Regions from separate parts of the Homo sapiens genome. Here region 2 is linked to region 1. The links are contacts of gene promoters, found by promoter capture Hi-C in human tissues and cell types (Jung and others, 2019). All regions are on one chromosome and are shown on one strand. The core of a region is centred on a gene start or on the middle of the fragment in contact, and the rest is flanking DNA. Distances in the headings are between cores, read along the strand shown.

What was found. The method cuts DNA at HindIII sites, captures the fragments that hold promoters and counts their contacts. A contact is called where the count stands out against the background at its distance.
Region 2: a contact is called between a fragment that was not itself captured here and the fragment with the promoter of RRH in region 1, in 1 of the 25 tissues and cell types used here (lymphoblastoid cells).

The regions. Positions count from the first base shown.
Region 1 is chr4:109,825,545-109,830,493 of GRCh38, reverse strand. It overlaps RRH (retinal pigment epithelium-derived rhodopsin homolog), which reads right to left and starts at 2,522. Exons shown (of 7, transcript NM_006583.5): 1 at 2,361-2,522. The coding sequence starts at 2,466. The HindIII fragment of the contact is 8,882 bases long and covers 1-3,616 here.
Region 2 is chr4:109,553,749-109,558,697 of GRCh38, reverse strand. It overlaps the pseudogene SETP20 and the pseudogene CDC42P4. Among named protein-coding and RNA genes, the nearest start is that of MCUB, 4.0 kb to the left of the region's middle. The HindIII fragment of the contact is 3,956 bases long and covers 1-3,665 here.

The sequences.
Region 1 (4,949 bases), core at 1,273-3,772:
CAACATCCAATCATCAATTCCACCTTCTGGCTCTTGAATGTATCTACTTTTTTCTGTCCCCACTGCGATTACTCCCTCCTCAGAATCACTGCAATGGCCTCCTATGTGGTCCCTTAGCTACCACTATAGCACATTTCTAAAACACAAATCAGATCATGTCACTCCCATTTCAAACCCTTCAGTGACTCCCTGTCACCTTTAAAACTTACACGGCTCATCACTGTCTGGTACTCAGCCATCTTTTTCAACCTCTCACCCTTCATTTTACAGTTCAAACATAATGATTTATTTCAGATCCTCAAATTCACCATGTCCTCTTACCTCCCAGCCTTAACTGGGGAAAGGGAGAGTGCTCAAGGACACTAAATTAACAAAATGTCTGTTGCACTGGAAGTTGTAACAGTTTATAGGAGCCAAACTATAAATGAAAGATCAAATTAAAAATTAAATAAAAAATCTAAATAGGCCCTTGGTAAAAGTAACGAATGAAATAAATGCTTTCACTACACCCTTTCCTCATAGTTTTGGTTTTGATTTGCAACTTTAAGTGAGTTTTGTTAAAGGAGGAAAGTTAGGGGATCTAAAGAAAAATAGATGCTTGATACAGGGGCAGAACAAAAGCATAAAGAGTTCAGCTATGCTTCCTTCAGTGGATCCACCAGAAACACAAACAACACACACTCATTGTATACCTTGATAAAGCTGACTCTTGGATTTATATGTGAGGGCTCTAGAACCAAAATGCCTGGGTTCAAATCCTGGTGTAGCTGCTTAGTAAATGTGTGTGCTGGACAAGTTTCTTAAGCTCTTCATCTGTATAAACTAGAGAAATAAAACTGAAGAGTAACTTACTAAATTAGTGTAAGGATGAATTATTCTGTATGTGTAAGGTTTTAGAACAGTGCTTGGTATATAGCAAGTATTCAAATGATAACATTAGTAGCAGTAGTAGTAAGATTACTATTATTATTACTGTTACAGAGATAAGAACTAAATAGAATATTTTCTGCATGCTAATTTTGTAACCAGGTCAAAAAAGGATAGTTTTGGTTGTTTTTTGGATTTTTTTTTTTTTTGGTCATCTACAAATAACTAACTAAACCAAACACTTGTATACAAAGTATTTCCATGTAATTGTTAGGAGATTTTCTCAGTCTTTTTTGCAATTACAAAAAAACTAGAACTTGTCTAGTACTTATCATAGAGGTATTCAAATGAACGAGATAACGTCACTAAAATCGCAAAACTTAACTGAGGAACTCAATTTCCAGTACTAGAAGTAATACGCTGAATTATAAGGAAGAAACGTAAACAATTATAAACTGGGTATAGGATGGTGTGTTATACTTTTCACTCTACTTTTGAATGTTTGAAAATTTTTATAAAAGTCAATCCAAAAAATAATGAACTCAATATAAGAGTTACTTCTACAACTCGTTAGAGTATAAAGTTGAAAATTAAGTGATTGCTCAATATAAAAGTTACACAATTCAATGATACATTAAAAAGATAAAAAGTTTCTGTCATTCCCCCATCCCTTTTTTTCTGCAAACAATCCTTTACATCAATGAGTGTGTAGGGAGGAAAGGGAAAAAGAAACAAATATTTGTCCAACACCTACTATATGGCATTTATGTGTCACTTAATTTTACTCCTTATAACAATCATGACAGATAACTTATTCTTATCCTTGTTTTACAGATGAGAAAATGGAAGAACAAAAAGGGAAGATACATGCTCACAGTTGCAAATATACTAAAAGATGAAATCCAAAACTCAAGAGTTTTCCAATAAGCATTCTGGAACAAGCTGAATTTTCAGACTCTGTCCTCAATGACAATATACCCTGCTCTGTCTTCTTAGGACTTTTTCTTTCCAGAACCTTTAAGTTCTTAGCTAAATTCTACCACCAAGAACAAAAATATGAGGGTTATGTATAAGAATAGTAAATGACATAAAAATATGTTTTTGCCATGGTGCATACTCTTCTCCAATAAAAACTTTAACAATCCAATAATCAAATACATAGATTTTTATGAAAGAACTATTTATCACATAGAAAACTTTTCTCAGCCCCACTTCACTGCTCTTATTTACCAAAATTCAAAATAACCTGTGGCAATGGCCATCACTAACAATGCTTTCCCTTATTCTTTCACCCACATTATCTTATTTGATCTTTACAGCCCAGAAATAGAGTATCATCATCCTCATTTACCAACGAGCAAGCCAAGTCAGGATAAATGACTTGTCAAGGTTGGCCAATAATATGGAACTTGAAACAATGCATGCCTTATGCTGAAAACTTCTGCCTTTCTTCACCCATTCTAAAGAAAAATAACTTACTTAAATATCCATACCTGCCATAATCAAGTAAGTTGCAACAATATTGTGTTCAGTCTGTGAAAAGACCGAGCCATCTTCATTTTTAGAGTCTGAACTGTTGCCTAAATTATTTCTTAGCATTTTGGAGGGAAGATACCGAAACACCCTTCATAATAAGCCTTCGATAATTATGAACTGCTTTATGAGCTACTGAGGAAAGATTTTTTAGGACCAATCATTTCCACTTAGAGACCTCAAAGAAGGGCCTTTTCATAGAGGCCCTCCCTTAACAAATTTAATTGGGCTAAAGAGGAAAGGACTTTAATTCCCAGAATAAGGGAAAAGCTTATTAGCAAAACAAAAAGAAATACCAAGCACCACACATTTTAACCTATTTGGGCATCAGTCTTCTATCTAAGGAGATTATCAAGCACACACATCCCATTTAACAATAAACAAACTCAGGAAATCAGTATAGGAGCCAGCCTTAGTCCTCTAAAACTATTCGGATTAAGGTCCCTGTTTTCTGTTGACCATTCAAGTCTTTCCATTTCGGCTCCTTTTGTTGTTTTTTTTTTCTTAACAATTTAAATATTAGTGACAAAGAAGTAGTCTCCTTCCTACTTCCAAATCTCACTCTCCTAAAGGTACCAGTATTGTTTGGTGCATATCCTTTCTTAGGCTTTTCTCTGCTTATACACATATTCATACAAGTGTTTCAGGTTTCCTCCACTTTCTTCTTGTAAATAAAAATGAGGGAAAAAAATAAGTACAAATGTATATATATAATGCAACTTGTTTTCCCATAAGGCTGTATTATAATATCCAAGTTAATAAACCCAGAATCTAATAAAGTCTAATTTATTAGTAGCTATGTATTTCATAGCATGGATATAATATGATCAACTCCACCATCCGTTAATTTCCCCTATAGTTTGATATGCACATGAGTAATTAATATTATCTGATGATAGTAATCATTGTATACTTTGCCAGAGTATCTGAATTCAATCACTGATATTGTAAAGTACAGAATAAAAATATTCTGGATTATCACATTACAACCTGAAAACCAACCTGAGCATGTTTTGTTAGAATAATAAGGTATCCCTATTACCTTTTTTCCCATATTCTTTATGCCATTAACATTATTAAAATCTGATTCTCCTCAGTTTCCTAAAATCAGTAAACATTAGAGAAATGCTTAGATGCACCAAAGTTAACAGTGTAAGCATAAAACAGAACCACTAGAGGGCTATATTTACCCACTTAGTTTAATTTTATAAAAATCCTAGAATGGCACAGCAGAAACCTAAGATAATCCTTTTGCTTCAGTTCTCTTGCCTGTGTATAAACTCAAGATGAACAGGTTGATTTATCTGTCCCAAATCTTATAGCTACCAGTACTCACATTTTTATAAATGTAATATTGTTATACCTATACTAGAAAAGCGAATCTCGTCAGTATTGTTTTCAAATGACCCTAGAGCAAAAAACATAATACCCAAGAGGAAATCACTCCCTTTAAAAAGTCTTTGTCTTTTCTTTCATTCAATATGCAAAACAAAACTTAAAATTTTTGAATTTGCTTTGGGTCATACTACCTTCCTTTTCTGTAATAAGTTATACCTAGTTGTAGCATCCATGAAAAATTTTCCAGAAATAATTATTTCTAAGAACTGAAAAATATATAATTTCAGATAGTCAGCTTTCTGCTGCAGATGAAAGTTTTGATATGAGTGAGGTAGGTGCATTTGAAGTTCTTTTTTATGCTTCCTTCATGGGTGATACAGAAAAGCTATATTGGGATAAGGCTTAGAAATACATGTGAATTTGATTCAAAATGAAATGCCTCAAAAAAACCCAGAAACTAGGCCAGGCGCAGTGGCTCACACCTGTAATCCCAGCACTTTGGGAGGCCAAAGCAGGCGGATCACCTGAGGTCAGGAATTCGAGACCAGCCTGACCAACATGGAGAAACCCCATCTCTACTAAAAATACAAAATTAGCCGGGCATGGTGGCGCATGCCTGTAATCCCAGCTACTTGGGAGGCTGAGGCAGGAGAATCGCTTGAACCCGGGAGGTAGAGGTTGCAGTGAGCCGACATTGCACCATTGCACTCCAGCCTGGGCAACAAGAACAAAACTCCGTCTCAAAAAATAATAATAATAAATAAACAAATAAATAAACCCAGAAACTATAAGGAAAAAAAAGGAAAAGATGTGGAAATAAAAGCTTAAAGATGGACAATGAAAAAAAGATATACATAAGCTAAACGGTAAAATTTCCAACTGGTTTGTCTACTGATCTATATGTTATTTCCATTATTGCCATTTTAGATTTATTTTTAATGTTAAAAAAACAAACTGTAGAAATGTTGCGCTATTATTATTTGTCCTTGGGACAATGCCATCACCCTTTGGTGCTTACTAACATCTTTTCCAAACCACGAGCAAAAGCCCTGGCCCTAACACTCCATGAAAATTTCATCACCACAATTCCAAATCAAATAATCTCCTGTCCTAAGCTGTAAAAGCATAACTGCCTATTCCTGTAAAAACTGTAATTTTCAACACATTTGCTCATCATATATATTAATGGCCTATGTATTTATTCATCCTGC
Region 2 (4,949 bases), core at 438-2,937, 270 kb after region 1:
GTTCTTAAAGGTAGCGTGTCCGGAGTTTGTTCTTTCTGATGTTCGGACATGTTTGGAGTTTCTTCCTCCTGGTGGGTTCAGTGGTTTCGCTGGCTTCAGGAGTGAAGCTGCAGACCTTGGCAGTGAGTGTTACAGCTCTTAAGGTGGCGCGTCCGGAGTTGTTCATTCCTCCCAGTGGGTTCGGGTCTCACTGGCCTCAGAAATGAAGCTGCAAACCTTCACGGTGAGTGTTACAGATCATAAAGGCAGTGCAGACCCAAAGAGTGAGCAGCAGCAAGATTTATTGCAAACAACAAAAGAACAAAGCTTCTAGAGCGTGGCACGGGACCCAGACAGGTTGCCACTGCTGGCTCTGGCAGCCTGCTTTTATTCCCCCATCTGGCCCCACCCACATCCTGCTGATTGGTCCATTTTACAGAGCGCTGATTGGTCCGTTTTGACAGGGTGCTGATTGATGTGTCTACAATCCCTGAGCTAGATACAGAGTGCTGATTGGTGTATTTACAATCCTTTAACTGGATATAAAGGTTCCCCAAGTCCCCACTAGATTAGCTAGACACGGAGCACTGATTGGTGCATTTACAAACCTTGAGCTAGACACAGGGTGCTGATTGGTGTGTTTACAATCCTTTAGCTAGACATAAAGGTTCTCCAAGTCCCCAGGAGATTAGCTAGATACAGAGTGCTGATTGGTGCATCCACGAACCCTGAGCTAGACACAGAGCACTGATTGGTGCATTTACAAACCTTTAGCTAGACAGAGTGCTGATTGGTGCATTTACAATCCTCTAACTAGACATAAAAGTTCTCCAAGTCCCCACCCCTCTCAGGAGCCCAGTTGGCTTCCCCTAGTGGATGCCATGCCAGGGTTGCGGGCTGAGCTGCTTGCCAGTCCTGCGCTCGTGCCTCGTGCCTGCACTCAGCAGCCCTTGGGCAGTCAATGGGACTGGACGCCGCTGAGGCAGGGGCGGTGCCCCTCAGGGAGGCTAGGGCCTAGCAGAAGCCCACCGCGGGGGGACTTGCACATGGCGGGCTGCAGATCCGAGCCCTGCCCCATGGGGAGGTGGCTGAGGCCTGGTGAGAATTTGAGCGTGGCGCGGGCCGGCTGGCAGTGCTGGGGGACCTGACGCCCCCCTCTGCAGCTGCTGGCCCAGGTGCTAAGCCCTTCACTGCCCGGGCCGGGGGTGCCGGCCGCCCTCCGAGTGCGGGGCCACGGAGCCCACGCCCACCCGGAACTCGCGCTGTCCCGCAAGGCCACATGCAGCCCCGGTTCCCACCCGCGTCTCTCCCTCAACCTCCCTGCAAGCAGAGGGAGCTGGTACCAGCTTCCGCAAGCCTGGAGAGGGGCTCCCACAGTGCAGCAGCGGGCTGAAGGGCTCCTCAAGCATGGCCAGAGCGGACTCTGAGGCCAAGGAGGCGCTGAGAGCCAGCGAGGGCCGCCAGCACATTGTCACCTTTCAATAAGATTCTTTACACAATTTTTATTAAACCAGAGAGCCAGCCAGGCGTGGTGGCTCATGCCTGTAATCCCAGCACTTTGGGAGGCCAAGACGGGCGGATCACAAGATCAGGAGTTCAAGACCAGCCTGGCCAACATTGGTGAAACCCTGTCTCTACTAAGAATACAAAAATTAGCCGGGCGTGGTGGAACGTGCCTGTAGTCCTGGCTACTCGGGAGGCTAAGGGAGGAGAATTGCTTGACCCCGGGGAGGCAGAGGTTGCAGTGAGCCGAGGTTGTGCCACTACACTCCAGCCTGGGCGACAGAGCAAGACTCCATCTCAAAAAAAAAAACAAACCAGAGAGCCTCATTTGGGGGCTCTTGGGTTCCTCGTCTGCTACACAGAAGTGAGGAGATTCCCCTGACTGATCTCATGTTGTTAAGTGTTCTATCCATCCCCACCACACCCCAACTTCTTCATGAAGCAGGTCTCCATCCTTATAACTTGAGAGGCTGTGAATCATTCCATAGATGTCGGTCTTCTGCTACCGCTCTTCACATTGCCTCTACATACCAGGTCTTCAGCTGCATTCTAGAAACATCATATACTATTGATTGCAAATCTATAATAATATAAGACAATGACTGACAGGGAAAAAAGTTTTTTTAAGTTACAAACTCAATCCACTTGTTGCATTTCAAAGGTGCAATACTTTTCTTTATTCATCAGTTAAAGAAGTTAGAAATTAACTTCCCCAAAAATCAGCAACCGGCAAACAAATTTCCTTGAAAGTCACAGTCACATATTTAGTGCATCCCAGAAAAGAACAGGGGCAAGAGAATTTTCACCCACTTTCATGAGTTTCATCAAATACTGAGCCTACTCAAGGGTGGAGAGAAAAGGTAACTTTCAAAAAGAGGTATGTTATTAAATAAGGCATTTACTATATTCTTTCCTAAAAGCACCCCAGATAGGGAACATGTTTTTTAAACTAGATTTAGGAAGTCGAATATGGAGTCAATCCGTCCTTCTCCTCTTAAGGACTGACCACTGGTTAATGAATTAAAAAAGAGAAAAGAAAAGAAAAGAAAAAAGACTAAAAAACAAACCCTACAAACACTCCTCCTCCAAAAAAGAAAAAAATAAAACCCCACTAAGATGTCCCAGATTACCCTCCAGAATGGACCCAGGGAGCAGCTTCAACAATTCCAATTAGTCTGTTACACAGTCATCACAAGCATGCCTTGCTTTTAAGTAAAAACAAAATTGTTTTTTGAAACAAAAACCAAAAATGAGTACTGATCACTTTTCTAACAATACACAATTACTCAGAATTAACTAGTATTGGGAGGGAGAAGTGGGCCATACCTCTAATCCCTGTCTCACATGGATGCATGTGGGTTGGTGCAGGGTATTTGTCATTATTGCATAAATGAATTTTAATTTTTAATCTTTTGTTTGATTTAAACATTGCTTTTAGTATGATGCCTACACCAGCTGTGCAGAAAGGGCTCTGGAGAGATGTTCATAGCAGCATAGGCTTCCAGCTCTTCTTCAGTTCTGGAGGCTCCAGGACAGCCAATATTGCTTTGTCAAATCCATTCTTTAGATCTTGCTGTGTGGGTACAGGACCGTCCATATACTTGACAGCCTTCAGGTTGTGGGCCGGCTTTTCAGCAGTCTCTGGAGTGATAGGCTTCTATTTGTTCTTGGTAATTTTCTCAATAATAGACCCTCTGAGATCAATTTGGGTTGTGACAAGCAAGAAAGGAGCCTTTGGACAGTGGTGAGTTATCTCAGGCCCTCACTTTTCTTTCATACTTTAAAATGAACATGGAGAGACCACTGAGAAACAGACTAGAAATATATCTGTGTAGATAACTCAGGAGTTATAGTCTGTCATAATCTTCTTGCCCTGCAGAATTAAAAGTCTAAGAGTATATGGCTCTGCACCAGTCCTAACTGTGAGTGCATAGTTGTCAAAAACAGTCTGTATCTATTAGGATGGAAATTTGTTGTGTAGGATATCAGGAGACATGTTTTACCAACAACTGCATTGACCACAACAATGCAACTAATTGTCTGCATTGCTGAAATAGTTTTGTATCCACTTTAAATATTTGAAATCTGATGTTGACCTCAGTTCTCCAGAAAAGAGTCTTATTAGGAAGGAGGGGAATGGAGAAGAGGGGGAGGAGATGTCCGTTTTGCAGCACAGAATCTGGCCACAAAGGTGGGATTAGCAAACTCCTGTGGGAGAAGCTCCGGACACTGCAGACAGAGCGGGTTTACCGGGGAGGCACTGTCCACAAAGTCGCTCGGCACACATAGATGTTTCGGGTGCACAACAAACTTTCCCACAGTATATAGGACTCTTGATGAGACAAAACGATTACTCAATGTGAGCTAGTTCATAAGTATTACTTATATGTCACAGCCTTTTCACATTCGAATCTCTGATCTCGCTTTTCAAAAAAAAAAAAACTTTGTAAACAGCTCTATTAAGGTATGATCTACATATCGTAACTTTCATTTATTAAAAGTTATTTTTGGCAAATTTACAGAGTTGTGCAACAGTCACCACAATCAATTAGAACATTTCCATCACTCTAGAAAGATTCCTCAGGCTCATTTGCCTCACTCTCCATTCTTACCTCCAGCCCCAGGCAACTACTAATCTACTTTCTGTCTCTCTAGGAAGCAAAGAGCAAGCTGAGCTGGAGATACATTTACTTTGGGTTTAGTGGGATATTTTTGTGTGGTTCATGGTCATTTCTATGTATTGTTAAGATATTGCTAGCCATGCCCACGTAGGAATGGCTTCCAGGAATACTCCTGTTATCCATTGGGCCTCCCACTTTGATAGAATTTTAATGGTAAATAGAGAAGGATATTCCTTTCCCTATTCTGTCTCCAGGTCCTGGACCTCCATTGCTAATAGAGTATTAAAGAACTCTGTACCCAAATGAGAGTACACATTATTTCAAACACATATGGATGATTCACAATGTAATGCCCACATGGTGGGCCTCAAAGGGAATCTCAAAAATGACCTTAAACTTGCTAACATATAAGCTATGTTCATGAAATTAAATATAAGAAATTGGAGTTTTCTGCCTGAGCAAGGAGACTGGTGGTCTGGTTCTTGGGCTTCCCTAGCAGCCTGGCCCCCAAATGCCAGTCTTCCCTCCTGTCTCGAAAGAAGACACCAAGACCACCTCCTGTTCTGAGACCAGAGGAGACTTCGGCCTCTGTAGGCTTGCCAAAGAAGGGCGAAAAAGAACAGCAAGAAGCAATTGAACACATTGATGAAATACAAAATGAAATAGACAGACTTAATGAACAAGACAATGAGGAGATTTTGAAAGTAGAACAGAAATATAACAAACTCCGCCAACCATTTTTTCAGAAGAGGTCAGAATTGATCTCTAAAATCCTAAATTTGGGGGTAACAACATTTGGCAATCATTTACAAGTGTCTGCACTGCTTGGGAAGGAAAACGAAGAGA